Linked DNA regions of Homo sapiens: regions 1, 2, 4 and 5 are each linked to region 3. The links are contacts of gene promoters, found by promoter capture Hi-C in blood cells and fetal thymus (Javierre and others, 2016). All regions are on one chromosome and are shown on one strand. Each heading gives the region's core, a stretch centred on a gene start or on the middle of the fragment in contact. The rest is flanking DNA. Distances are from core to core; before and after follow the strand shown.

Region 1 (5,068 bases), core at 1,205-3,704, 210 kb after region 3:
TTCAACCATTCCTACCCGTACCATTCCTTATGCATTTTCTATTAAAGAACAGTGAGAGAAATAGCCATGAAATCAACCAGTGAAAGTCTCAGGACAGCTAGTGTTTATCTGATTATGTGACTCAATACACATAGAAAAAGATGGTTTTTTCTCTTTACTAAAACAAAACAGAAAAAATGTGCTTCAGGAAACAGTGTAGAGTTGTCATTATTATTATCATGATTGTCAATGGTGGAATGATATTATAGAAACAGACTTGTAACCAGAACAGACCTAATGTAGCTCTGTATCCTAGTAGCAAAGATTATTAAGGAAATCTAAGTGAAAGGTGTATAGTAACAAACTTTGTGTAGGGTCTTATTGTTCTAATCAGTTTCAACACTTGCTGAGACCATTTTGGAAATCGTGTAGAAAGTAAATTATGCTGTTTTAGCAGGGGGGAAAGCCTCACTCTTCACTCTAAGTAGCCTAGCATTCAAAAGAATTCCTTTTTCAGGGTGGGCGCTGTGGCTCACGCCTGTAATCCCGACACTTTGGGAGGCCAAGGCGGGTGCATCACTTGAGGCCAGGAGTTCTAGAACAGCCTGGCCAATATGGTGAAACCCCGTCTCTACTAAAAATACAAAAATTAGCCGGGGGTGGTGGTGTGCTCCTGTAATCCCAGCTACTTGGGAGACTGAGGCACGAGAATCACTTAAACCTGGGAGGCAAAGGCTGCAGTGAGCCAAGATCATGCCACTGCACTCCAGCCTGGGCAATAGAGCAAGATTCAGTCTCAAAAAAACAAAAAACAAAAAACAAAACAAAAACCAAAATTCCTCTTTCAGAACCTTTCTATGGAAACAGATTATGAGTTAGAATAAACACAGGATGCCATAAGCTTTCCAAAACAACTAGATTTAAAAATTGCCCTGAAGGCTACATTTGAGAGGAGACAAATAAGTTTACAAGAGAATCGCTTGACATCATATACTGTGTAGCATGTTTCACTTAAAGCAAGCTTGTTTTTGGCTTGTTTGTCCCATATGCTTTGACATGATCAGCCAATGAAATTGAATAGGCTGAGAGCTCTTTCTAGAAAGACTGGCCCTGAGAGGCTGGTGAGGCCCAAGTGAGCATGTCCAAGGCTGCAGCCCAGCTTGCCTCAGCAGTGGCCCAAGCACAGGTTCATGGCCTCTGTGGTGTCAGCGCATGTACTTTAACAAGCACTCTCAGTTGCTCCACATAAAGCCAGTACTTTGAAAGGAACTATACCAGGATAAAAAGACAGAGAAACCTCAAGCATTACAGGGTATACTTTGTTTGGTAAAGTGTATTTAACCTTAGTTGTAGGAGGTGATATTAACCATAATATGCTAGAATAACTCATTCAGTCATTTAAATGATCTGGGCACATGCCTTCATGGAACTCACAAGACAGTAAGACTACAAGATCCTGATAAAGCTGAAGTTGTAAGCAGTCTGTGTCACCTCTGTAATTGTGGAGAGAGGGAATGGGGATACTGCTTTAATTCATGTATGGGAGCATATTGACTTCGCTCTTATCAAATGTTTTCCTATTTCTATTAATTTGGGCTGTATTCCTCTGGATATTGTGATGCCGCTTCCTCTGTCACTGCCTCCTTTCCTTTTCGTTGCACTTTAAACATTGGCTTCCACCTGCAATCTACCCTTTTCTTGACCTTCTCCTCACTCCTCAGTTTTGCATGGGCAACTTCCTTTCAGGTTCTTTGCAGCTAGCCACTTGTATGCCCATAAATCCCAGCTTAAACCTCTCTCACTGAGCTTTAGACCCATATTTCCAACTGTCTCCTGAACATCTTCATCTGCATAAGCTGAGACCCCTTAAATTTAGCAGATCCCGTCTGAAATCATTTTATTTCTCAAACATTTTACATCTATTTGCTCTCTTTCTTCATGCCATGCAAGCTACACAGTAGTCTAAGCCAGTCATGCTGTCATTCCTTTTCACTCTCAACTCATCACAGCTAACTAATCATTAAGTTCTATAATTTCTGCCTTCTTTGGGTATCTCAAATGTGTCCCTCCTCTCCATTACCACTGCCATCACTGCAGTTTGCATTTTCAACATTTAAAAGAGCTTCTGATCTTCTTTAAAGCTGGCCTTTCTTTTCCAACTCATTCTTCACACAGTAGCTGGAGAAGTCCTTTATAATTGCTTGATTGTGTCACTCTCCTACTTAAAACCTTCAGTGGCTTCATATTTTCTGCCATTGTTACATTCTCAAGTATCTACAGGAATTAGGCAAATAACATATAGGAGTGAAGTGGGCCAAGTGTGACAAAATAAGGAAGAATAAGAGAGAACATTTCCACCTGAAGAGATTTATAATCAGAAGTTTAAAAAACATGACAAACCAGCCGGGTGCTGTGGCTCACACCTATAATCCTAGCACCTTGGGGAGCTGAGGCAGGAGGATCATTTGAGGCCAGGAGGTTTAAGACCAGCCTGGGCAATGTAGTGAGACCACATCTCCACAAAACATAGAAAAATTATCCAGGCTTGGTGGCACGCACCTGTAGTCCTAGCTACTCCAGAGGCTGAGGCAGGATTGCTTGAGCCCAGAAGTCTGAGGTTGCATTGAGCTATGACTGTGCCACTGCATTCTAGCCTAGATGACAGAACAAGACCCTGTCCCAAAAAACAAAAACACATGACAAACCTATCTGAGAGTTTAATGTTGCCTGTGGATCTTCCATTTACTACGGTCAAGCCTAAACTCCTGAGCATAACACAGGCAGTGTTTCTGTGATATTGGTTATCTCCTTGAGATGATCAACTTGGAATGTTCAGCTTTTGCAGAGACTGACATAACCACTGTGTCATGTTTTGTTGCTTAGTTTTTAGGTCAAATCGTGTCAGCATGAAGAGTGTGTGTTTATCATTTTAAGTACCTCTATGTTCACATTAGAGGCCTTGGAACATAAGGAAAGTTTGTAGGCTTTGGAGTCAGTGTTGACTTAAGTTCAATTCCCACTTCTGCCAAAAAGGAGCTGTGTGATTTTTGAGCTAGCCATTTAACTGCTTTGAGCCCCAATATCCTCCTCTGTTTAAACAATAAAGAAATGAAAGTTTTCAAGATTGAGAGTATGAAGTCAAATAATAAACACCTCCAATTATCTAGCTCAATGCCTGCCACATAGTAACTCCTCAGTAAAATGTAACATTCAGACAGGTAGCAAAAATTTGAGAAGTGACAACAAATATACAAAACTAATTCCCCCAGCTGCATCCTTCCCAGCAATTGAAGGCTGGGTCATGGTGGCTCACACCTGTAATCCCAGGACTTTGAGAGGCCAAGGTGGGAGGATCACTTGAGGTCAGGAGTTCAAGACCAGCCTAGCTGACATGTTGAAACCCTGTCTCTGGCCTAAAGGAAAGCAAACCTATTGGAAGTCAATATCAAGTGAAGCAGACAATTGGAAGCTGACACACACATGATTCACCCAGGCAACTAAAAACCAGGAGTTTCCAGCCTAGCTGCCTAACTACCTGAAAATGGAATTTGAGCCCAGAAAGTGTTTCTGTTGACAAATTCATGAGCAGGATGGGAATATGGCCTCTCTAACAATTATACATAATATACAAAGTTCATTTTACTTTTTTCTCTGCATAAAATCTTAACTTTTTTCATGTAAATGATGTTAACTGAAATTTTAATTCACTAGTATAAGGACACATAGAATATTTATTTTGGTTTATTCTCTAGAGCTGTATAAATTTGAAGCACCAAAGGAAGGAAGTAAACAACTTAGTTTTCTTTACCAGAACATTTAGTATGGGAAGGGAGGAGGGCTGTTGAGTTTATATTTTATTCCAATGCACAGAGTATATTAATGATATTATGACTGATCTAGGAACACTAAAGAAGCCTTGAAAAGCTTTCATCATTAAGGGAAAGTTTTGTCAAGCTTTGCATTTTTTCATTTTGTTATTTAAACTTCAGCTTAATTTTACCATTTAAGTATATTTAGTAATTTGTGTATGCAGCTGACATGATCGAAATAGGGGGCTGAGGCCAGACGCCGTGGCTCACACCTGTAATCCCAGCACTTTGGGAGGCCAAGGCGAGTGGATCACTTGAGGTCAGGAGTTCAAGACCAGCCTGGTCAACATGGTGAAACCCCGTCTCTGCTAAAAATACAAAAATTAGCCAGGCATGGTTGTACATGCCTGTAATCCCAATTACTCGGGTGGCTGAGGCATGAGCATCACTTCAACCCTGGAGGCGGAGGTTGCAGTGAGCCAAGATGGCACTACTGCACTCCAGCTTGGGCAACAGAGTGAAACTGTCTCAAAAAAAAAAAGAAAAAAAAATAGGGGGCTGAGTACCTTACAGTGTACTTTTCTGCCTTACCATAGAGCTGTAGTGATAATGAATAAACTAATAAAAGAAACCAACTTGAAATTATCCATGTTGGCAGGGTGACATGCCCAGAACTCCTGACTGCACTTACAACAAAGAGACTAGAAAGAACAAAGTAGAAAGCTGGCTTGTTGTGAGGGTAAGACTAAGATGTAGTGTTTCAACTTCTTACTTTGCAGCAATATGTCTCACCCTAGACATACTTTCTTGCCCAGATAAGTAATACCATATTGAAGCAACAGAACGTTAATATTACTAAGCTAAGAAGATGGTGTCTCTGAAAGCAAAGCTAAATCATTTAAGGCAAAGCATGTTGAAACAAAAAGGTAGACAAGTGCTGTCTTTACTGGCCGTAGTACTACTCTTTTTTGGTTTCAAGGAGTATTCCTAAAAGGGTGATCTCAATAAATGCAGTTTCATTTTCCATTTATTGAGACTTTGACTCAGTCACTTTTATGGTGACTTTGATATTACATTTTAGTGTTTAGCCTTTTGTTTTTCTTTAAAAAGGGATTTATTTTTGGTCAATGCCTTCTAAATATTTTTTTTCTCTCCTCTGCAGCTCCTCAGAGAAATTTTGAAATTGCCTTCAAGATGTTTGATTTGAATGGAGATGGAGAAGTAGATATGGAAGAATTTGAACAGGCAAGTTGTCCTGGAGAGTTCCTCTAAATACATTA
Region 2 (5,085 bases), core at 261-2,760, 140 kb before region 3:
CCTATGCCTAAGTAGGGAAAAAGATAAGCAAGAGCAGGAGGTCTCAGACTTTGAGTTCCTTCTGTCTAGGCTCTGATACAACAAGAGGCTGGAGTGTTTGATCATTATCCATAATGTGAAGACCCAATGGTTAGAAAACACCAAAGATGGTGCTTCTGTGATCTTCACATTAACTATGTCCCTAGTTTTAACAGATAAATGAGGCTGGGCACAGTGGCTCATGCCTATAATCCCAGCACTTTGGGAGGCCGAGGTGGGCGGATCACGTGGGTTCGAGACTAGTCTGGCCAACATGGTGAAACCCTGTCTCTACAAAAAATACAAAAATTAGTTGGGCATGGTGGTGCTCGCCTGGTCCCAGCTGCTTGGGAGGCTGAGGCAGGAGAATTGCTTGAATCCAGGAGGCAGAGGCTGCACTAAGCTGAGATCGCGCCACTGCACTCCACCTGGGCGACAGACCAAGGCTCCATCTCAAAAATAAAAGATAAATGATCATTTAACCTATAAAGTCTTAATGGAACTTAGTGTTTCTTCTTGGTTTCTTCTCTAAACTCACTAGATTCTCATCCAAATTTTATTTTCCTTCTCCTCCTTTCTCTCTCTGACCCCTAAGCCCACCTTAACTGAAAGAGTATGGTTTATAAATTTTTGTGTCAGAGAATAGGAAACACTGAGCTAAGAAGGAAATAATATTAGACATAAAAGGTGGATTTGCTGAAACTCACCATCAGAGGGCACAACAGTGCTGCAATAAACAGCTCCCAAATTCTGCCAGGAAGCGATCCTCTGGTGTACCTAGAAAACACAAAAGATACATCTACTGTCAGAATGGAACAACAAACATATACTTATGTGTGTGTATATAATAAATATATACATATGATTACTTAAGTAATATGCATGCTTTGTAGAAAACTTTAAAAATACAGATAAAAGAAAATAAAAGTCTTTCAAACTCCTATCATCCTGAAATAATAGTGGTGAACATTTTGGTATGTTTTCAAGATTTATGCAAACACATTTACATATACAAACACAAGTATACATGTTACATTAAACAAAATTAGAATTATACAAATCATGTTTTATGTACTTTTAAAAACATTTAATATTGATTCTAGGTGCTACCAGGCCTCAAGTAAACTTTCTGGCTTTTTCTTCCTCCGGTTACCTTTCAGATCTGCGTCTCCTTCCTATCTCTTACCAGGTATGAGAGTTATTAAGTAGCTGTATCAAGAATTTACTATTATTGAGTAGGCATCTGGTCTTTATGTTCACTCTCCTTTTTAAAAAACCTGGAGAGGCAACCTCACTAGTTGAGTCCTTAATCACGACCGCTTCAGAGTGTTAGAAAAAATCACTCACACTCACATCCACCTCTACTACTTCCTCGAAGAGCAATCACTGTGGATGTGGATCTGGGACTCAGGTTCTCATAACTAAACCATGTTTCAGAATGAATACTGAATACATTTCTCACTTGCCAAATGCTTAATTTATTCCTTTGTATCTTTTACTTTCCCAACCCCAAAAAGTATCAAAGGAAGAGGAAGGGCAGGCATTAACTGAACAAAATCCAATATACCAGCTTCAGGCCTGACATATTCCATTCCATCAGCACAAAGAAAAATCATTTAGTATCTACTAAGCTGTATTAAGGTGTGCATTGTCACAGAGTCCTAAATGATTTTTCTTTGTGCTGATGGACTTTGTATGACTATCATTAATTTCCATCTCGTTTCAACTTAAAAGAGCATGCAGAAATGTAAGACTGACATTTATAAACAATTTAAATAAATAATTTAAAAATTACTTGAGACTTGGCTCACAGCTAGTTTCGTTTTAAATCTTTGATTCATTAGGAATTACTTCTAGTCAAAGTTACTAAGTAGAAATCTAACTAATTTCCCTCTAATGACAACATAGCTGTCCCATACAGTGAATAATACATCTTTTCCTTTCTTATTTGAAATGCTATCTTTATAATTTTCCAAATAATTACATGAATTTGGATCTACTTCTGAAATTCTATTCTGTTCATGCTCTAGTAGCCACATTGTTTTAACTAACATTCTAGTCTTATTTCAGTATCTGGTAGGGCTAGTTTTCCCTTATTACTTTTCTTTAAGACAACTCCCAGCTATTCTTGTTTATTTGTTTCTCCACATGAACTTCAGAGTCAGTTTATCTAGACACACACACACACACACACACACACATAGCTATTGGTTTCAAAAAACAGTATCATGTAGTGGTTAAAAGCACAGAATCTGAAATAATCTTGCCTGAGTTCATTTTGTGGTTCAGTAACTTTAACTGCAACTCTTGGGCAAGTTATTACCTTCTTTGTGCCTTGGTTTCTTCACTGAAAAATGGGCAAAAAGTGGTACTAACATCACCCATATAAAGTAGTTGTGAGGACTAAATGAGTAATACATGTAAAGTCCTTAGAACATGCCTGGCATAGAGTAAATTCTCAATAAATATTAGCTATGTTTTGTTTTGAGGTATTAACTTCATGGGTTAAAAAAGGATTTTGATTTTTTCCAAAGAATCTTGTTAAGTCTTTCCATTTAAGTCTCTGTTTGTATTTCTGAGAAGCACTTTGAAGTTGTTTTCATGCAGATCCTGTAGGCTCTTTTTTCCTCATGTAATGGTTTTTGGACTAAGTCTTGTCCAATATTAGGAACACAATCCCTGCACGTTTGAGTTTGCATATGCCTGTTACATCTTTGTGTGTTCTTTAATTTTGTTATCCTTTCTGAGTTTCTTTGCTTTCATTTTCTTAGTAATCTGATCTGGGAATGTTTTAATAGGAGAATTAGCCTACATACTTTAATTAATATAACATACATACGTAATCTCTTATCAGTTATGAAATTTTATGCTATGCTTTCTAAAGTAAAAATACTTTACTAGTGACTAGGCATGGTAGTTCACGCCGGTAATCACAGCACTTTGGGAGGCTGAGTGAGAGGACTGCTTGAGCCCAGGAGTTAGAAGAGGCTGCAGTGATCTATGATCGTGCCGTTGCACTCCAGCCTGGGCAACAGAGTGAGACCTCATCTCTTAAAAAACATTAAAATAAAATTACTCAAAGATTTGTGCTTGCTTTGTTTTAGTTATATATATATTCCTTAAGAAAGGCTTACTTTTTTGTTCTAGTAGTTACTTCAGAGTAAAAGTCAAAGTTCTTTTAACGGCCTTTGAAAGTCTAATATTCTCTGATATCCCATTATCTCTGACTTCATCGCTTACCACTCTCCCTCCTACATTACTGTGCTTTACCCCTTTAGACTCTTCCCTGTTTCTTGAACTCAGCTACATTTTTGCTTCAGGGCCTTTGCAATAGCGATTACCTTTGCTTAGAATACTGTTTCTCTAGATAACTACATGGCTCCCTCAGTTCCTTCAAATATTTGCTCTACTCATCCACTTCAAAAAAAGCAATCTCATCAATGGGTACTCCGAATCCTTTTATGCTGTATTTTCCCCCCATACATTTAACACCTCTTAACAAATTATTTACTTATTTTTGTCTCCTCCAACCCACGAAGCAAAAATTTTCATCTGTTTTGGTCACTGACAGTGCTTGACAAATAACAAGTCCTCATCAAATACATGTTAGGCAAAAAACAAAACAAAACAAAACAAAAACCAACCCTATATTTTATAGTTTATGTTATAACTATAATTTTATATAAAATATACTGTAACATATAAAAATCCTATCTCTATCGTCAGCAATGATTAATACAGCTATGTTTCTTTTTTCTTTCCCTCTACCATTCGGTTTCGTTTATTAGATTATTTCTCTTAGCATTTACCTTTCGCTCTAACCTACGTATCTATGTATCAACTACAGACTCCCCTCCACCCCAATCTTAAGATTTTACTAGATTTACTGATTTCAAATGACATCTTTTGACAGGTTGTTATAAAACATGACAACATCATTTATTTCCTCATCTTTCCGACTTTCATTACTGCACTGTCAAGGTTTTAACGATTCATATTCTTCTCTGTAAATCTAATTTCCACATTTGTTTTAGTCTTAATGCTATAGATCAATGGACTCTATGTTCACTGCCAATACTTTAGCTGTAGTTTCTCCTTTCATTTCTTGGTTGGCTGCACATCTTCCTGTAGAAGTAGGACTCATGAGAGCTAAATTTCCTGCAGCTTGGCATGTTAATTTCTAAATTAATCTTTCCTTGAGGATTTGGAAGGGAAAGAATCAGTGTTGAATACTGCTTTGGAGAAGTCTGAGGTCGGCAGCTTCCTTTGGAGAACTGTGTTTGGCTGGCTTTGTTGGGGATCTGCGACCACAGGTGTCATTCCTCAGGGTTTCCCCACACACCTCTACTTGACCTTCACTGGATCTGGCAACCTTCCTTTATATAATTAGTGTTTTGGAATTGCAGAGATCTCCCTAGTTGTGCTGAAGATGGGGTCTGTATTTTTATCTTATTCTCCTTCCTATTCTAAGATGTGAGAAGAGAAGGGAGAAACTGCTGCCTTTACTGGGCCATTATTTGTTTATGTAGTAACTTTTAAATACTGACATCTTCAGACACATACAGTAGGAAGCACAGTGTGAAGAAATCTCATGAACCTATCATCTGCTTCTATATTTATCAACATTTTATCAAATTCAGTTCATCTACAGCCACCCAGTTTTTCCCCTTCCGTATCTCTTAAAAGGAAATCCCAACCATCATATCACTTCAATATACATACACTGGGCCGTTTTACAACAGAAATCCTCTGTCCTCTATGAGTTCATAAATTATCCTTGACAATAATAAAAGATGTTTTTGTGGGGCAGTGAACCACATTAATACATGGCTGGTTATGAGTAATATTTGTTAGATGATATAGAACATGGGTTGGCAAGCTGGCTGCCTGTTTTTGTAAATAAATTTTATTAGAACATAACAAAGCTCATTCATTTACTTACTCTCTATACCCCACTCAACTACTTTCACATCACAACAGCAAAACTGAGTGGTTGGTATATAGCTGCAAGAGTTGAGTAGCTGCAACAGAGACCACACGGCCCACAAAGTATCAAATATTTACCAT
Region 3 (5,367 bases), core at 1,515-4,014:
GGGGGAAGAGACAAACTAAGTTTATAACTTCATAATTGCACTTACCAACTAGCTGAGCTACTGTATTGCTTTGGACTCATTCTCGAAACTTGGAAAAGATGAATTTCTCACTTAAAAAATTAGGCAGTGCTGTAACTGGTTATGCCCCCCTGGTTGTAATTTACCATACCATACAGCGGAACAAAAGTGGCACAAACTGGACTTGTGATCCATTCCAATGCAGACTGCCATCTGCTGCACATACACAGGATGTCTCCCAAGCAAGATTCAACCTTAGTGTCTCTCAGGGACCTTTACCAGAACATCTATTCTTTCTGGTAAGTTGTTTGCTCCCATATTCACCTAATATATGTACTCAAATCAACACCTACTTACAGGAGAATTCCCATTCATGGGGTTTTGAAATAGCAATACTTTCATAATGGACAATAGTAAATTTTATAAGGGAGGAGAGAGATGTAAAGGAGCATTTGCACTTTACAATGAAAAGAACACAATAAGAGGTGAGAATATCTCAGATGAGTGGGAGTCCTAAAACTTACGTATTAGCTAACGTAACCTTGGCCAAGTCTCTCTCTTTTTAGGGCCTCAATATCTTTTAAATGGAATTTCTTGTAAAGAATCACAGACTATCCTATGGAAACAGCTGTATACATGATGGCTTCAGAAGAATTGTAGAAAAATAAAATGTTTATACACTTTAAATAATCAGGTTCAATTTTTTTCAAAATCTTACAATTCTAAATTCATGTACAAGTCACCATTCCCATAACATTCCTGCCCTTTAGAAATAACACTTCGTTTTAATTGTGCTTTCAGTTACAAATTCAGCACTTCATTTTTACCCACCCTAGAATAGCACAGAGAACACCTTCGTGAAGTATCCCCACAAGGGAGACACTCACAGCCTGACAAATTTGCATAGTGGAAAATATACAAGGCACAAATTTTTTAAAATGCTAAATGAATATCACACCCAAACAGTCTTAAAAACTGTGCAAAGTCAGAAGATGTCTTATCAAAATATGGACTTAAGGACAACTTGGGAAGCCTTTAAGTAGTTCGACGGAAAGGGGAATGCAATCAAAATTTGGGGTGGCCTTATGTTTTTAAGAGAACAAAACACATAACTAGAGGCTATGAAACATGCAAATTAAATTGAACTGTGGAAAAGCTCTTGGCTGTCACCCAAAAGCTTCAGCAAAGCAATATGCCAGTATGCCAAATAAAAAGAGGTACAATCTTCTCACAAGAATGAGGATAGGGTCCATACCTATGACTAATAATAACAATACAACCTTGCTTTTGCAGAGCATTAGGTCTTTTCATAGATCTTTCAGGCACTCGATTTTGATGCTGTCATTGGCCTTAGGAGTATCCTCTCCGAAGAGCTCCAGTTCAGTTTCCTCTTAAGAGTTATGATCAGAACAAGGCAGGCGATGTGTTTATTGAGGGTTGAAGGTACTATTGTAGTTTCTCCTATCAAGCTGTTTGCAGTGATCCTCCAATAATCACACTATACAACTCAGCCCCAGCAAATAAAACCTACATTCTTTCCCTCAGAGCTGGCCAGAGACCAACACATATAGGTCTAGAAAGTCCAAGGGAAGGAAACCTCCTGACTTGTTAGGTTAAGAACTCCATGCCAAATTCATCTCTTGCAATTGAAAAAAGAAATCTCTCTCACACTCTGTCTCTCTCTCTCTCACACACACACACACACACACACACACTCACCCAAGAGTGTTCAAACAGAAATCCTCTTTTTCTGCCAGCCAATGAAACCCAGCAACAACTGGTTAATACAACCACCAAATCTCTGCCTCTGTCAACAACTTACCATATTCGCTTCTCCTGTGCCTGCTGACCACCCTTCCCGCTTCAGGCACGCGTGAACACGCTTATACAGTAGCCCTCGAAAGGACCCCCAAAAGCACCTTTAAGGACCCAAGAGGATGAAGCTTGCCTCCTGAAGCAATGCAGCATCCATCTCGAGGGAGCCGGTTCCCCATGCACACACACAGAGGAAGTCACAGAGGGGAATAAAGTTTGATTTTCCTTCCTGCCCGACCCCTCGGGGACGAGAGAGGACGAGGGGCGGCCCCGCCGGGGTCCTGGGCTGCTCTCCGGGGCAGCTCCCAGCAGCATGGCACTGCCACTCTCCTGGCACACACAAGGCGGCCGCGGCAACTCAGAACTCCCCAACCCGCCCGGAGGAGGAGGGAAAGGGGACAACTTCCATCTGGCTCCGTTCAGGGAGCCTTGGGGCAGGGCTGTTAAGAACGAAGAAGGGAGGGAACGCGATTGGGGGCGAGTCGGGGAGAGGTTCAAGTCCCGTGCCTTCCCCGCCCTGGTGTCCCCAGTCCTGCGGGAACATCCCCGCCGTCGCCCCTCCTCCTCCTCTCGGCTTCCTCCCGCCCGCCCTCCCTTCCTGGTCGCCGCCGCAGGCGCCTGAAGGGCACGGCGGCTCCTCGGTGCCCGGCAACCTCCGGAGCGGCCGGGAGTTGAGGTAACTCGCCTGCTGCCCCGGCGGCCTGCCCGCCGGCGGCTCCCACACGCCAGCGCCGCCCCGCCCTCCCCGGAGCCTCCGGGCGCGCTCGCTCACCGTCCGGTGGTGCTGCTGCTGCCGGTGGCGGCTGACGCCCAGCCCAGGGAAGCAGCCGGCAGTCAGCGCCCCGCAGCCGCCGGCGCCCCCGCCGCCGCCGCCCCGAGAGGAGAGGAGCAGCAGGAGCGATCTACCTGCGGCGGCCGCCATCTCTCAACTGGAAACGGCGCCGACCCAGGCAGCGCAGCGGACGGCCAGGGCGGAGCTAAGACCCGCCACTCACCGACGCCGGGCCAACTAAAGCCCTTGACTGAGTTGATGAGGCGGGGCTTCCTGCAAGGTCCAATCGACAGGCGGGAGAACCACACTGGAAGCTGCCAGTCCCTTCCAGAGTTACCTATAGTGGGACATAGTCAATTACGGGCAAATTCTAGGGAACCCATAATTGACACCCAAACCCGTGAAAATAACAGCAATAGAGATGGCATGTTCAGTTCGGCTAATCTTCACCAACAATAGAGCTATGATAAGAGTAACGGGGGATATAGATATTTGTGAAAAGCTTTGTTCGAAGTTGAGTTCTAAGTGAGTGTTCTAAGTTGGCAAAATAGGCACCAAATTAATAACCATTAACGGTGTATGCTGTAACTCTCAACTACACGCCTAGAATTATCATTCATAACTGATAATATTTAGATATGCTGAAATTAACTCTACATCACGGAGTGATCTAATGACTGTGATGCGTAGCATAATATAGGAGAGGTAGAACGATTACAATATCAAAGTCCCAGAATGAGTACATGCCTTCAGAGTGAATTAACTGACGTGTATACATCTCAAATACCCAATTCATTTTTACAGCACCTTTATACGGATATTCTCACACTCTCCAGAAACAGCACTATTTTATCATATTTGACTTTGTGTGCATTTACAGAAACAGAACACATTAATAACGTAATAAAAAATCATGTAAGGCCGGGCGCGGTGGCTCACGCCTGTAATCCCAGCACTTTGGGAGGCAGAGGCGGGCGGATCACGAGGTCAGGAGATCGAGACCATCCTGGCTAACACGGTGAAACCCCATCTGTACTAAAAATACAAAAAATTAGCCAGGCGTGGTGGCGGGCGCTTATAGTCCCAGCTATTCCGGAGGCTGAGGCAGGAGAATGGTGTGAACCCGGGAGACGGAGCTTGCAGTGAACCGAGATCGGGCCATTGCACTCCAGCCTGGGCGACACAGCAAGACTCCATCTCAAAAAAAAAAAAAAAAATTCATGTAAAAGGCTATTTTAATGATGCTTCATAATTTTGCCGAAATAGTTATCAGAATACGCTTTGGAATAACAAACACTTTCTCTTGAAAAACACTTCTTTCCACTTAAACTCACAATGAGGGCTCCTTGAATACTGCCTAAGAAAGATTTTGGGTCCTGAATTTCCTTAGAAGAGTATTTCCTTGCTAGCTGTTTATTATTATGAGCTGATTAAATTCTCACACCTCTTTTTAAAATCTGGAGCAGGAAAATAGTTTGGGAAGCAAATACAAGCATTATTTTAAATTTTGGAAAACATCTTTGTAGTGTAGCCTTAGATGATAAATTTAAAACAAAAACAAAACACACACATAAATACGAAGAAAATGTTATCACTTATTCTAAGAATATTCTTTAAAGTTTGACTGAAATGGTACCTTCTTGGCCAAGAATAGCTAAAAAATGACGTGGAAGTTTTTTGTTTGTTTAATCCTTATGCCCCACCTACACCAAAACAGTGAGATGATTGGCTTCTCCGGGGTAGATATCATGTCACTCACTCAAAAGGCTTTATTGCCCAACAGGTGGAACTTGAGACCTCAAGAATGAGCCCCCATTCAACAGCTGCACACAGTAATCCCCCTAGTTGGAAATCCATGACATTCCTGGAACAATTTCCCTTACAATTATTTTCCACCCATCTATATTTATCCCAACTGCATTTGATGTATTTACCCATGCTGTGCCATTTTCTCTCTCACCCCTTCATGCCTTCTTACAGAGATCACCATGGATTTTAGTTTTGTTTTTATTTTCTGTGCTGTCACCAGATCTAGCTATGAATCAGGATTGCTCCATTTCCACTTTCCACTTTAAGAAATTTTACTAGAATTGCCTTTACTCTATTTTTCCAAGCATGAAAATTAGATGTGCATCCTGCAGTGAGATTTACTCATATGCATTAGCAAAAGAACTAAGTAAATAATACTTTTAAGTGCACAAACATGAAATGGGCAGTATTAGCAAAAGTTTTCATCCTACCTATTTACCAAAATGTGTCATCTTTTATCTACTAAGATGAAACCACTGATGCACCAGAGAGAGATAGGCTGTATAAATCTGAGGATTCACTGACTATACTCAGTTCTGGGTGTTGATAATCCAAGGCCGGCAATTAATTTAAACAAATATCAATTATCTCCTCACAGAGAAAAACTTCTTCATAGCTGCAAAGGACATATCTCATATGAGCTGGTTGGCCAAGCCTGATAAGGAGAAAGTGTAGATAGCTCAACAGAAAGTTCTTCTCAAACCTAAAAAAAAGTATGTGTGTGTGTGCCTGTATATACACACACATTATATAGAGAGAGAAGGAAAGGGAATTAACATACCTGCTATGTGCCAGAGATTGTGCTGATCACTCCAGAGATACTACATTTAAAAAGGAGGGCAAGACAACCACAGAAAACTTTTAAAAATTGTAACTTTCATGAGAAAGAAGTTGAAGAAAACCTCAATGTCTTCCAATAGGGAAATGGTTAAATACATTAGACACTAACTTTG
Region 4 (5,676 bases), core at 1,804-4,303, 240 kb after region 3:
CCAGGCACAGTGGCTCATGTCTGTAGTCCCAGCACTTTAAGAGGCCAAAGCAGGAGGATTCCTTGAAGCCAGGAGTTTAAGACCAGCCTGGGCAACAAAGCGAGACCCTGTCTCTATAAAAAATTTTAAAATTAGCTGAGTACAGTGGCAAGTGCCTATAATCCCAACTACGTGGGAGGCTGAGGTGAGAGGATCCCTTGAGCCCAAGAGTTCAAGGCTGCAGTGAGCTATGATGGTACCATGGACTCCAGCCTGGGTGAGAGTGAGACCCTGTCTCTTAAAAAACAACAAAAAAGATTATCTTCATCTTCTGTGTTACATCTAGTTCTTCAAATCTGATACTCTTGAAGGTAGATCTCTGCTGCCTTTGAGAGCTATGGGAGATTTTGGGAACAGCTTCTTTAATAGTTGCCACTGCCTCTATTGTCTTATATTGGCCATTCACATTGATGCATCAGCTGTTGCAAGCCTATTAGGACCCCAAGAAGAGATGATATTAAAAACAATTTAAAGATTTAGGCCAGGCATGGTGGCTCACACCTGTAATCCCAGCACTTTGGGAGGCTGAGGCAGGCAGATCACAAGGTCAGGAGATCGAGACCATCCTGGCCAACATGGTGAAACCCCATTTCTACTAAAAATACAAAAATTAGCTGGGCATGGTGGCACATGCCCATAATCCCAGCTACTTGGGAGGCTGAGGCAGGAGAATCACTTGAACCAGAAAGGCGGAGGTTGCAGTGAGCTGAGATCATGACACTGTATTCCAGTCTGGCAACAGAGCAAGACTCTGTCTCAAAAAAAAAAAAAAAAAAAGATTTAAGGGACTGGGCGCAGTAGCTCACGCCTGTAATCCCAGCACTTTGGGAGGCCAAGGCAGGCAGATCACCTGAGGTCAGGAGTTCAAGACCAGCCTGGCCAACATGGTGAAATCCCATCTCTACAAAAATTAGCCAGATGTGGTGGTGCACAGCTGTAATCCCAGCTACTTGGGAGGCTGAAGCGGGAGAATCGCTTGAACCCGAGTGGTGGCGGTTGCAGTGAGCTGAGATTGCACCATTGCACTCCAGCCTGGATGAGAGAGTGAGATCCCATCTCAAAAAAAAAAAAAAAAGAATTAAAAAAATAAAGATTTAAGGAAGTATAATTTCAAACATGAGAATATTCTGCTAGCACCAGCAAGAGAAAGACCTGCAAGGCAGAAACAAAGCATGATCTGACTTTGTTTTAGTAAAGATTTAAGATTAGCAGTGAGAAAGCCATGCAACCACAGGCTTTGCAAGTTGTTAGAGTTAGTTCCCCGGAATGTGTATGAAGCAGAAAAGAACCTGTTTGGCACTGATACCTTCAGTCACCTCCATTCGCACAATCACTGTCAGAAACATCATCTCATCTGACCACCTGTCTCTGTCTCCACCACCATTCTTGTCTTTTGCTTGGGCTACTTCAGTTGCCGCCTAACTACGTGATTCATCTCATCAATCACTCTTAACTAAGAGCCTTTGCACCACTATTGATTTCCCTGGAGCTCTCTTCCTTCTCCTTCACCTAGTTACCTTGTTTTTATCGCTCAGAGCTCACTTAAACCTCACTCATATCTTTTCCTGCTTCACCACCTCTCCACCCCAAATTAGATCACATTTTTGTTACACATTTCCAAAGGACTCTGTACTTTTTTTTCAAATCACTTAATTACATAGTCATTTCATTGTTTGTTAAATACCTGTCTCTCTGCAAACACTCCCTGAGAACTTTCACGAGAGTGTTGGGCCCGCCATTATTTCCTTAGTGCTTCCCAGAGACAGAACACAAACCAGATTTTCAGGAAATAGTGTTGAATTAGTAAATATCAGATGTGGACGAAAGCCTGGCAAAGTACACATACATGTTGATGCCCACTCCCTCTCCAGCTCTCTGTGGCATCTATGGTCTAGTATATTAGGCACATTCTGGGGTATCAGCCCCGCTTTCAACAATTCTGTCTTCTCCAGGATTTTGCCCACTCCACTTCCCAAACATATGTGGGAACTCCTAAAAGCCATGTTTGTAAATGTGAAGTTCGATCTAGAGATAGACCAATATACTTAAGCATGAAACATTCCTCATTAGCTATTTTAAAAATGAAAAAGTACCACAAAATTGAGAAGTATCGTTTATGTTTCTTAAGTTGCTTTTAAAAAAAAACTAAAGAAAACCTTAATTAACTTGATGACCAGAAAGAAAAAAATAAAAAAACGCTTTACTGCTGCAGGATTTAAAACATAACCTGACTTAATGGTCTGTCTGTGGTACTCTAAGAAACTTACCAGGTGCAGTGGCTCATGCCTTTAATCCCAACACTTTGGGAGGCCAAGGTGGGAGGATTGCTTCAGCCTAGGAGGTCAAGACCAGCCTGGGCAACATAGTGAGACCCTGTCTTTACCAAAAAAAAATTTTTTTTTTTGAGACAGAGTCTTGCTCTGTCACCCAGGCCGGAGTGCAGTGGTGCAATCTAAGCTCAGTGCAGCCTCTGCCTCCTGGGTTCAAGCAATTATTGTACCTCAGCCTCCTGAGTGGCTGGGATTACAGGCACCTGCCACCATGCCTTGCTAATTTTTGTATTTTTGGTAGAGACAGGGTTTCACCATGTTGGCCACACTGGTCTCAAACTCCTGACCTCATGTGATCTGCCCGCCTCAGCCTCCCAAAGTGCTGGGATTTCAGGTATGAGTCACCATGCCCAGATTAAAAAATTTTTTAAATTAGCTGGTCATGGTGGCAAATGCCTGTAGTCCCAGCTCCCTGGAGGCTGAGGCAGGAAGATCGCTTGAGCCCAGGAGGTCGAGGCTACGTGAGCCATGATAACACCACTGCACTCCAGCCTGGGTGACGGAGTGAGACCCTATCTAAAACAACCAAAACAAAACGAACAAACAAAGCTTAATTGTCTAGCAAGGGACAGCTAAACTTATAATTAACCAATAGGTTACAGCACTGTAAAAGAAATCTTGCAAATTTTCTCCCTGGCTGTTTTTTACAATTGTTATCATTAAAGGACTTCATGGTTTTCCTGTTCTTAAGGGGGAAAATATTTTCTTTTTTTTTCCTTTATGAAAGGAGAATGACAGTGATACAGTGTGGCCCATTAGATCCTTTGCCATTCACCTGCCTGTGTTTGGACTGTTCTCACTTTGTGTATTAAAGCTTCCTTAAGCTACATGTTTCTGAGCCTCAGTCTCCCAATCTTTATTGCATTTTTCCTAATGCTTGTCAGTCAACTTAATCTGAATTCTAATTTCTATATATTGTGTTCCAATCTCTAGCTCTCCTTTTCTAAAAAATGGGCACTTTCCAATGTAATGTTTAGTGTATTAAAAAATATTAACTTGGCCAGGTGCGGTGGCTCACACCTGTAATTGCAGCACTTTGGGAGGCCAAGGTGGGCGGATGACTTGAGGTCAGGAGTTCCAGAACAGCCTGGCCAACATGGTGAAACCCTGTCTCTACTAAAAATACAGAAATTAGCTGGGCATGGTGGTGGGCACCTGTAATCCCAGCTACTCAGGAGGCTGAGTCAGGAGAATCACTTGAACCAGGAGGCGGAGGTTGCAGTGAGCCTCGGCAAGAGAGCAAGACTTTGTCTCAAAAAAAAAAAAAAAAAAAAAAAATATATATATATATATATATACACACACATATACACACACACAGACACACACACACACACACACACACACACATATATATAAACTTTTTCCATGGTGCCCAATGTGAATGAGCTCATCACCTATGCAATGGCTTTCTGAATGGTGAGAATTAAAATGGATGATAAGATTAAGCCAATCAAAGAAGGGGTGGGTCATCAGAAAAAGTGAGATCAACTGGGATTTGAGCTCTGGAGACTGAAGAATAATGTGTTACTAATTTTACAGATGGTGTCCTCAAAATGTAGGTTTTTAGTGTAGGCAGAAATTTGAGAATATGCAACTTCATAATTTAGCTCAGTTCATCCAGGTAAAAGCAGATATAACCTTAACTGTTTTATCGTTCTAATATAATAGACCTCTGTTCCTCTCAGTTAAACTCTCCAGCTTTTGTGGAGCATAGCAAGACTTTTCATGATAGATTCATTGAACATGGCCATTTTCCTAACTGAGGCACAATTGATTTTTTCATATCTTTTTTTTTAACTTCTGCCTGTACACCAATGATTTTTTCGTATATTGCATCTGTGAAATTGTTCCTATAGAAAACTTCAAGTAGTAACTATTTTTAACAGCATTGCCTCCTGGTTATAAACTAGCAGTTTAACATATAATTGCTTACCTAGGTTTTCTTTTTCTTCTTTTTATTAGGAATATATATGTATACTTACAGTCAGTCTGTAATTATGGGCTTGTTAAGTCATTCATAGAAACAGTAATATACAATTTTGTCATGACTATAATCATGCCAATAATATATATCTGTATAGAGTAATTTTAAAACCCTCTAGCCTATATTATGATCTTGGTGTTGTCCTATTATCTCTTCAAATCCCAGGTCCCTCTAGGCAGTAGCTATTATGCCTACTTCAAAGGTTATTATGAGACTCAAATGAGAGAGTGAATCGGAAGCATTTTGTACATTATTATCCCTCAACCTATTTGTGCCCCATACATAGTAACTTCAGGCCTTATAGTTTGTCCCTACTGCTCCTGTTTCCGTAAACCTTTGCAGAAATCTGGTTTTTACGGGCAAAAAGAGGTTATAATTCAACTTTCCATGCTCTAAGCATAGTTCCAGTCTTGCCCATCTCTTTTATTTCTCTTCTTATAAACATGCAAAATGTTCATGTGAAGAGTAGAAAGGAGAGGATTAAGAGAATTACTTACTTACAGTTTTTCTTTCCTTTCTCAATCTTATTTTTTGTTGTCTTTGTAGAAGACAGAAAGTTTATTTCTCTTTAAATAGAGCTAAAGTTAACAGAAGCAAGTGTGACCACAAACTTATTACTTGCAGCTTTTGTTCATTGTTCTTACTATCATTATTAATAGCAGCCAACATTTACTGAGCTCTTAGTATGTGCCAGGCATCCTACTGCCATATTTCATTGAATCTAAAAGAAACATTGGTTTGAGACACTATTATTTTATTAATCACTAAGAAAGAAAAAAATGCTGTTGTGCAAACCATGACAAAAATGCTCTACACTAAAAATATTTAGTTAATATCTATTAAAATACTCCATTAGGGCTGGGCCTGGTGGTTCACATCTGTAATCTCACCACTTTGGGAGGCTGAGGCGGGTGGATCACTTGAGGTCAGGAGTTCGAGAGCAGCCTAGCCCAAAAGGTGAAACCCTGTCTCTACTAAAAACAAAAATTAGCCAGGCATGGTAGCGGACACCTGTAATCCCAGCTACTAAGGAGGCTGAGGCAGGAAAATCACTGGAACCCGAGAGGTGGAGGTTGGAGTGAGCCGAGATCACACCACTGTGCTCCAGCCTGCTGGGCGACAGAGTGAGTGACACTCCATCTCAAAAAAACGAAACAAAAATACTCCATTAGGCTTAGATTTTTATTTTATGACATTCTTGTACATACATATAAAGAAAATAAATAAATTGGTCTAAAATTTCTTCATACTCAGGATCCAACTCTTCTGAATTTTTTTTGACTCTGAATCATGGAAGTCTATGTTTTTCCATACAATATT
Region 5 (5,716 bases), core at 589-3,088, 160 kb before region 3:
CATCCCAAAGTGCTGGAATTACAGTATTGAGCCACAATGCTCAGGCTAATCTCTGCTATTGACTTATTAAATATACCTTATTTTATTTATTTTTATTTTTTTTGAGATAGGGTCTTGCTCTGTTGCCCAGGCTGGAGTGCAATAGTGGGATCTTGGCTCACTGCAACCTCCACCTCCTGAGTTCAAGCCATTCTCCTGCCTCTACCTCCTGGGTAGCTGAGACTACAGGTACCCATCACCACAACCATACTAATTTTTCTTTAGTAGAGACAGGGTTTCACTATGTTGGCCAGGATGGTCTCAAACTCCTGACCTCAAATGATCCGCCCGCCTTGGCCTCCCAAAGTGCTGGGATTACAGGCGTAAGCCACCACACCTGGCCCTTATTTTATTTTTTTAAGCATTACTCTAGAGCAAGTATTGCTAAACTTTTTTCTGTAAAGGCTGAGGTATTAAATATTTTAGACTCTGTGGGTCATAAGATCTCTGTTACAACTACAAACTCTGTTACTGTGGTGCAAAAGCAGCCACAGGCAATATGTAAACAAATAGGCATGGCTGTGTTCCAACAAACTTTATTTATAATAAGCAATAGGCTGGCTTTGGCCTGTAGGTTAGGGGGTCGCCAACCCCCAGGCCACAGACTGGTACCATCGAAAAAGTGTCTTACACAAAACTGGTCCCTGGTGCCAAAAAGGTTGAGGAGCACTGCTGAAGGTCATAGTTTGCTGAATTCTGCTCTATGTTATACATCTTTACCATATCACAGTCAGTCTTCAAATAATATAATATCACTTTAGGTATAGTTTAGAGGACCTTACAACAAATACTTCCATTCCCCCTGCTTGCATTCTTCGTGGTATTGTTCTCACACGTTTTTCTACATATATTATAAACTGCACATTATTTTTGTGTGGTTTACCTTTTGATTATCTTTTAAAGAAATTTTGTTTTGCATAGTATATGATATGAGTTTGTGTATATTCTTATCTTTGTTCCTCTATGTCTTTTTTCCTCTGTCTGCCTTTTTAAAACTTTTACTTTTTAATAAAGACAGGGTCTCATTCCGTTGCCCAGGCTGGAGTTCAGTGGCACCATCATGGGTTACTCAGTCTCAAACTACTGGGCTCACTGGATACTCCCGCCTCAGCCTCCAAAGTAGCTGGGACTACAGGCATGTGCCACCATGCCCAGCTAATTTATTTTATTTTTGAGACAGAGTCTTGCTCTGTCACCCAGGCTGGAGTGCAGTGGTGTGATCTTGGCTCACTGTAGCCTTCACCACCTTCAAGCGATTCTCCTGCCTCAGCCTCCCCAATAGCTGGGATTACAGGTACACACCACCACACTTAGCAAATTTTTGTATTTTTAGTAGAGATAGGGTTTCACCACGTTGGCCAGGCTGTTCTCGAACTCCTGACCTCAGGGGATCCACCTGCCTCAGCCTCCCAAAGTGCTGGGCCAGCTAATTTTTTTAATTTTAATTTTTAATTTTTATTTTTGTAGAGACAGGGTCTCACTATGTTGCCCAGGCTGGTCTCAAGCAATCCTCCTGCCTCGGCTTCCCAAAATGCTGGGCTCACAGGTGTAAGCCACCATGCCCAGCCCTCTGCCTGCTTTTCAACATTTTCCTTTTATCACTGGTTTTCAACAATTTGACTGTGATGTGCTTTGCTTTTCTTTATGAATGGTTGGGAGTTGTTAGATTTTTTAGATCTGGCTTTCCTCAAATTTGGAAAACTTTTGACCTTTATTCAACTATTATTTTTTTCTGTCTGCTACCCTTCTGGGATTCCAATTACACTTATGTTAGGCCATTGTGATATTGTCCCACAGGTCACTGAGGCTTTCTTCATACATTTCAGGGGCTTTTTTCCCCCTCTCAGTTTCATTTTGGATAGTTTTAATTGCAATATACTTCAACATCATGGATTTTTTTCTTCTGCAGTGTCTAATTTCCTGGTAATTCCATCTATATGGTGTTTTCATTTCAGACATATTTTTCACCTCTAGAAGTTGCATTTCTTTTTATATCTTCCATTTCTTTTCACATTATACTTATATTTTTCCTTTTCTCTATGAGCATAAGGATCATATTTATAATAGCTATTTTAACATTCTTGGCTGTTTATTCCATTATCTCTGACATTTCTAGGTCTGTTCATTGACTGAATTTTTGGAAGGCTTATTTTTTGCTTCTTCATATGCCTAGTAATTTTTGATTGGTGGTTAGAAATTTTTAATTTTACATTGTTGAGTGCTGGATCTTGTATAGTTAAATTAGTTGCATGTTAGTTTGGCCCTTTCAAGACTTCAAAAAATTATTTTAGGACAGATCTAGAGAATCCTTTATTCTAGGACCAATTTGTCCCTACTTCTAAGATATGGTTCTTCTGAGAATGTCTACCAAATGTTCATGTGTCCAAGGCTATCTCTCTACTGTGGCTAGAGGGAAGCAAAATTATTCATTTTATATTACTGGCAATAGTTATGTTCTAGGAAGTTGTTCTAGCCTGGTCTTGTGGTTTAGAATTCAGCCAAAGCCTCACAGGATGCCTATGCAGATTTCCGAGACTCCTCTTTCTCTTCATAGCTCCTTCCTCTGTAAACCTCTGTCTCATAAATTCTAGCTGCCTTGGGATTTACAAACTCTGATCTCTGTTTCTTCATCTTAACTAGATGGCCAAGCTCTGTTTCCCCTCTCTGTGATGCAATTTAGAGGCCGCCTCAGGCTGTAAACTCAACCAATGCAGGGTTCAACTCATTTGTTCCTCTTATCTCAGGCATCACAGTCCTGTGTGCCTATTGTCCAGTGTCTGAAAACAGTTGTTTCAGATATTTTGTCTGGTGTTCTAGTTGTTTATAGCAGGATAGTAATTCCCATAGCAGCTAATACTTCATGGATGTACGATTTGAATTTTTACATAAAAACTAAAAGGCAAAATCAGAAATCCTTATTGCCTTTTTCCTTCCAAAGGAATAGTCTGTTTCCTAAGGAAGAAGAGGTCAAAATAGTAATTTGAATTGAATATATAGCATGTACTATCTAAAGTCTGCAATACCTAAAGATATTTTTAAAATTTGTTATATTCCTTCTTGTTCTAAAAGAATCCTTAACAATTAATCTACTGTTTCCTGAAGTCAGAACCACTAACATGAGAATATTTCTATCTTTTCTATAGGCAGTAATGATGACGAAGTCATTAAGATTAGTGATTAAATTATCCAATTATCCCCTTTCTGTATGTGAAAAAGAGTAACCACAGATCAAGAAGTAGAGAGAGTTGAATTGAAATACGAGATAGAATCTGTGAGTCTGAAATATATTTGGAGGATCTTGAAGCTGTCTTTGCAAAAATTATAAAAGTGAGAAAATTATGACAGTGAAAGACACCTAATCTAACCAACCCCATATTTCCTTTAACCTCCAAACTGCCCTTGGTCATTCCTGGGCTTGGGCCTAGCTAGCTTTGGGAGAAATTTAGTTTTTAGTTTAAATAATATGCCTTCCCCCAAAATAAACTGCCTTCACAAAAACTAACGAAAGAGCAACAGGTTAGGAAGATGGGAGGAGGCTGAATTCTGCTAAGATGTAAGTGGAAGGGATTACACCAAGCCATTATTCCAGAGGTCACAAGATTTGCAACTTCCCCACACCCACTCATGCAGATAACATCACTGTTGTAGAACCTAAGATTGGCCTTTTGAGATGTCCTTTCAGGCTCCTGTGGCCCCCACCCAGAAGAGGACTCAGCACATGAGGACCATTTTCCACACCCCTATGACTGCATCCACAACCAATCAGCAGCACTCATTCCCTTAGCCCCCTGCCCACCAAACTATCCTTGAAGAATCCTGGTCTCCAATTTGGGGAGACTAATTTGAGTAATAAAACTCCAGTCTCCTGTTCAGCCAGCTCTGTGTGAATTAAACTCTTTCTCTATTGCAGTTCTCCTCTCTTGACAAATTGGTTCTATCTAGGCAGTGGGCACAGAGAAGCTGTTGGGCAGTTACAAATGCACTAAAACATCAGTTTCACAGGTAAATGCTTAGGGGTTACTGTTTTAAAATAACTGAGACAAAGTCAACAGAGAATATGAAGGTCTTTCATACCCAATTTAACTTCTTCCTTTAAAGAGCATGATGCTTTTTTCAAGGGAATGAAATAAGAAAGCTTTTGAGAAACTCTACAAGGAATAATGCAATTCAGAGCTGACAAGCCTTTATTATACTGCTTTTGAAATCCCAATGCCTACTTCTTTCCTACACAGTAGACTGTAATGTCAACGTTAGATTTCTTAGTTTGCAACTCAGGAATAACTATTGCCAAGGTTCCTCAAGTTTCACAATATAAACAATAAACAGCTGGCTGTAGCGAAGTCACAATGGGTATTCATAAGCTAATGACAGTTGTCAGCTACTATTACCTAGATAAAAAATATTCTTTTAAAGTATAAATTGCATCAAGTGGCTGTTTGGTTGAATTTTTTAATCTTTTGCTTTGATTTCCATGTGAATAAAGTAAGAAATAATATAAGTATGTTCCAGAGCAGTGTGCTTCAAAAAAAGCCTAGAAATTATGGAGCATTCAACATGAATACTTAGAGCTAGAACATGATAACAGATTTAGGCATAAAAACCAAAAGATGCGGAATTGTGCAGACTAAGAAGAGTAGTGCAGGAACTACAAACAATTGCATTTGAAGAAGGAATACATATTTTAAAAATGCCTTTGAGGCATCAGGAGTTGAAAAAAACAGTCATAAAATACAAATGCTTGTTATTTTGTAAAATATTTTTTAAATGCTTGTAAAAATATATAGTATGAAGTTTGGCTGGTGTTCAAAACAATGAGTAAAATCTCCACTAAAATATATCACCTGTATATATCTTGAGGGCTTATTATGAAAGGGACTTGGTACACAAGGAAGCACATGTTGGGGTTTTTCCGCAAAGCTACTTGGAGTAGAACTATATATGATGGATGATTTCAGGGGCTTATGATCTTAACATTGTCGATTTCCTCCCCATTTTCTGTAATATTCTGCATCATAAGTGTGAGATATAATCATAGAATTTCAGTGTTGGAAGGCCAGACAGATCATACAAACTAACATCCTTCTTTTGCAGCTAAGAATAACAGAGTCTAGTAACGTTAGATAATATTCCTGGGCCAGGCGCGGTGGCTCACCTGAGGTCAGGAGTTCGAGACCAGTCTGGCCAACATGGTGAAACTCCATCTCTACTAAAAATACAAAAAATTAGCTGGGTGTGGTGGCAGACACCTGTAATCCTAGCTATTCAGGCACCTGAGGCAAGAGAATTACTTGAACCTGGGAGGCGGAGGTTGCAGTGAGCTGAGATCGTGCCACTGCACTCCAGCCTGGGCAACAAGAGCAAAATTCTGTCTAAAAAAAAAAAAAAAAGAAAAAGATAATACTGCTAAGGTCACAGAGTTCAATCCAATGCAATTTGGATCTCATCATTTGACTAAGAAATCCTCTTCTAGGTCACACATGACATTAGGTTGCTAAATTCAGTAGAAATTTTAGCTCTTAACTTGCTTGTTTTAGCAGTATCTAATGATGTTAACGACTCCCTCCCTTTGTAAAAAGTTTCCCCACCAGCTTCTATGATGCTTCTAGCTTTTCTTTCTGTCTAGACCTTCTAATTTCCCCTCATAAGCTATTCTTCCTCTATTCATCCCTTAAAAGTT

What was found. Contacts are between HindIII fragments. The CHiCAGO score rates a contact against its expected background, and 5 or more counts as called.
Region 1: a fragment that was not itself captured here is called in contact with the fragment with the promoter of MCU in region 3 in 2 of 17 cell types (M0 macrophages and monocytes); the score reaches 5.4 in M0 macrophages.
Region 2: a contact is called between a fragment that was not itself captured here and the fragment with the promoter of MCU in region 3, in 1 of 17 cell types (megakaryocytes). The highest score is 8.6, in megakaryocytes.
Region 4: a contact is called between a fragment that was not itself captured here and the fragment with the promoter of MCU in region 3, in 2 of 17 cell types (M1 macrophages and megakaryocytes). The highest score is 6.0, in M1 macrophages.
Region 5: a fragment that was not itself captured here is called in contact with the fragment with the promoter of MCU in region 3 in 3 of 17 cell types (M2 macrophages, M1 macrophages and megakaryocytes); the score reaches 7.0 in M2 macrophages.

Annotation. Positions count from the first base shown.
Region 1 is chr10:72,477,139-72,482,206 of GRCh38, reverse strand. It overlaps MICU1 (mitochondrial calcium uptake 1), which reads left to right. Exons shown (of 12, transcript NM_001195518.2): 7 at 4,951-5,033. Among named protein-coding and RNA genes, the nearest start is that of DNAJB12, 120 kb to the right of the region's middle. The HindIII fragment of the contact is 2,903 bases long and covers 1,003-3,905 here.
Region 2 is chr10:72,830,069-72,835,153 of GRCh38, reverse strand. It overlaps MCU (mitochondrial calcium uniporter), which reads right to left. Exons shown (of 8, transcript NM_138357.3): 2 at 726-795. Among named protein-coding and RNA genes, the nearest start is that of OIT3, 61 kb to the left of the region's middle. The HindIII fragment of the contact is 7,528 bases long and covers 1-5,085 here.
Region 3 is chr10:72,689,540-72,694,906 of GRCh38, reverse strand. It overlaps MCU (mitochondrial calcium uniporter), which reads right to left and starts at 2,764. Exons shown (of 8, transcript NM_138357.3): 1 at 2,606-2,764. The coding sequence starts at 2,755. RefSeq lists enhancers at 1,327-1,416, 3,087-3,146 and silencers at 2,177-2,266, 2,287-2,336, 2,427-2,886. The HindIII fragment of the contact is 1,146 bases long and covers 1,964-3,109 here.
Region 4 is chr10:72,446,165-72,451,840 of GRCh38, reverse strand. The region is part of intron 8 of MICU1 (mitochondrial calcium uptake 1); the gene reads left to right. Among named protein-coding and RNA genes, the nearest start is that of DNAJB12, 94 kb to the right of the region's middle. The HindIII fragment of the contact is 265 bases long and covers 2,921-3,185 here.
Region 5 is chr10:72,849,626-72,855,341 of GRCh38, reverse strand. The region is part of intron 2 of MCU (mitochondrial calcium uniporter); the gene reads right to left. Among named protein-coding and RNA genes, the nearest start is that of OIT3, 41 kb to the left of the region's middle. The HindIII fragment of the contact is 4,677 bases long and covers 1-4,176 here.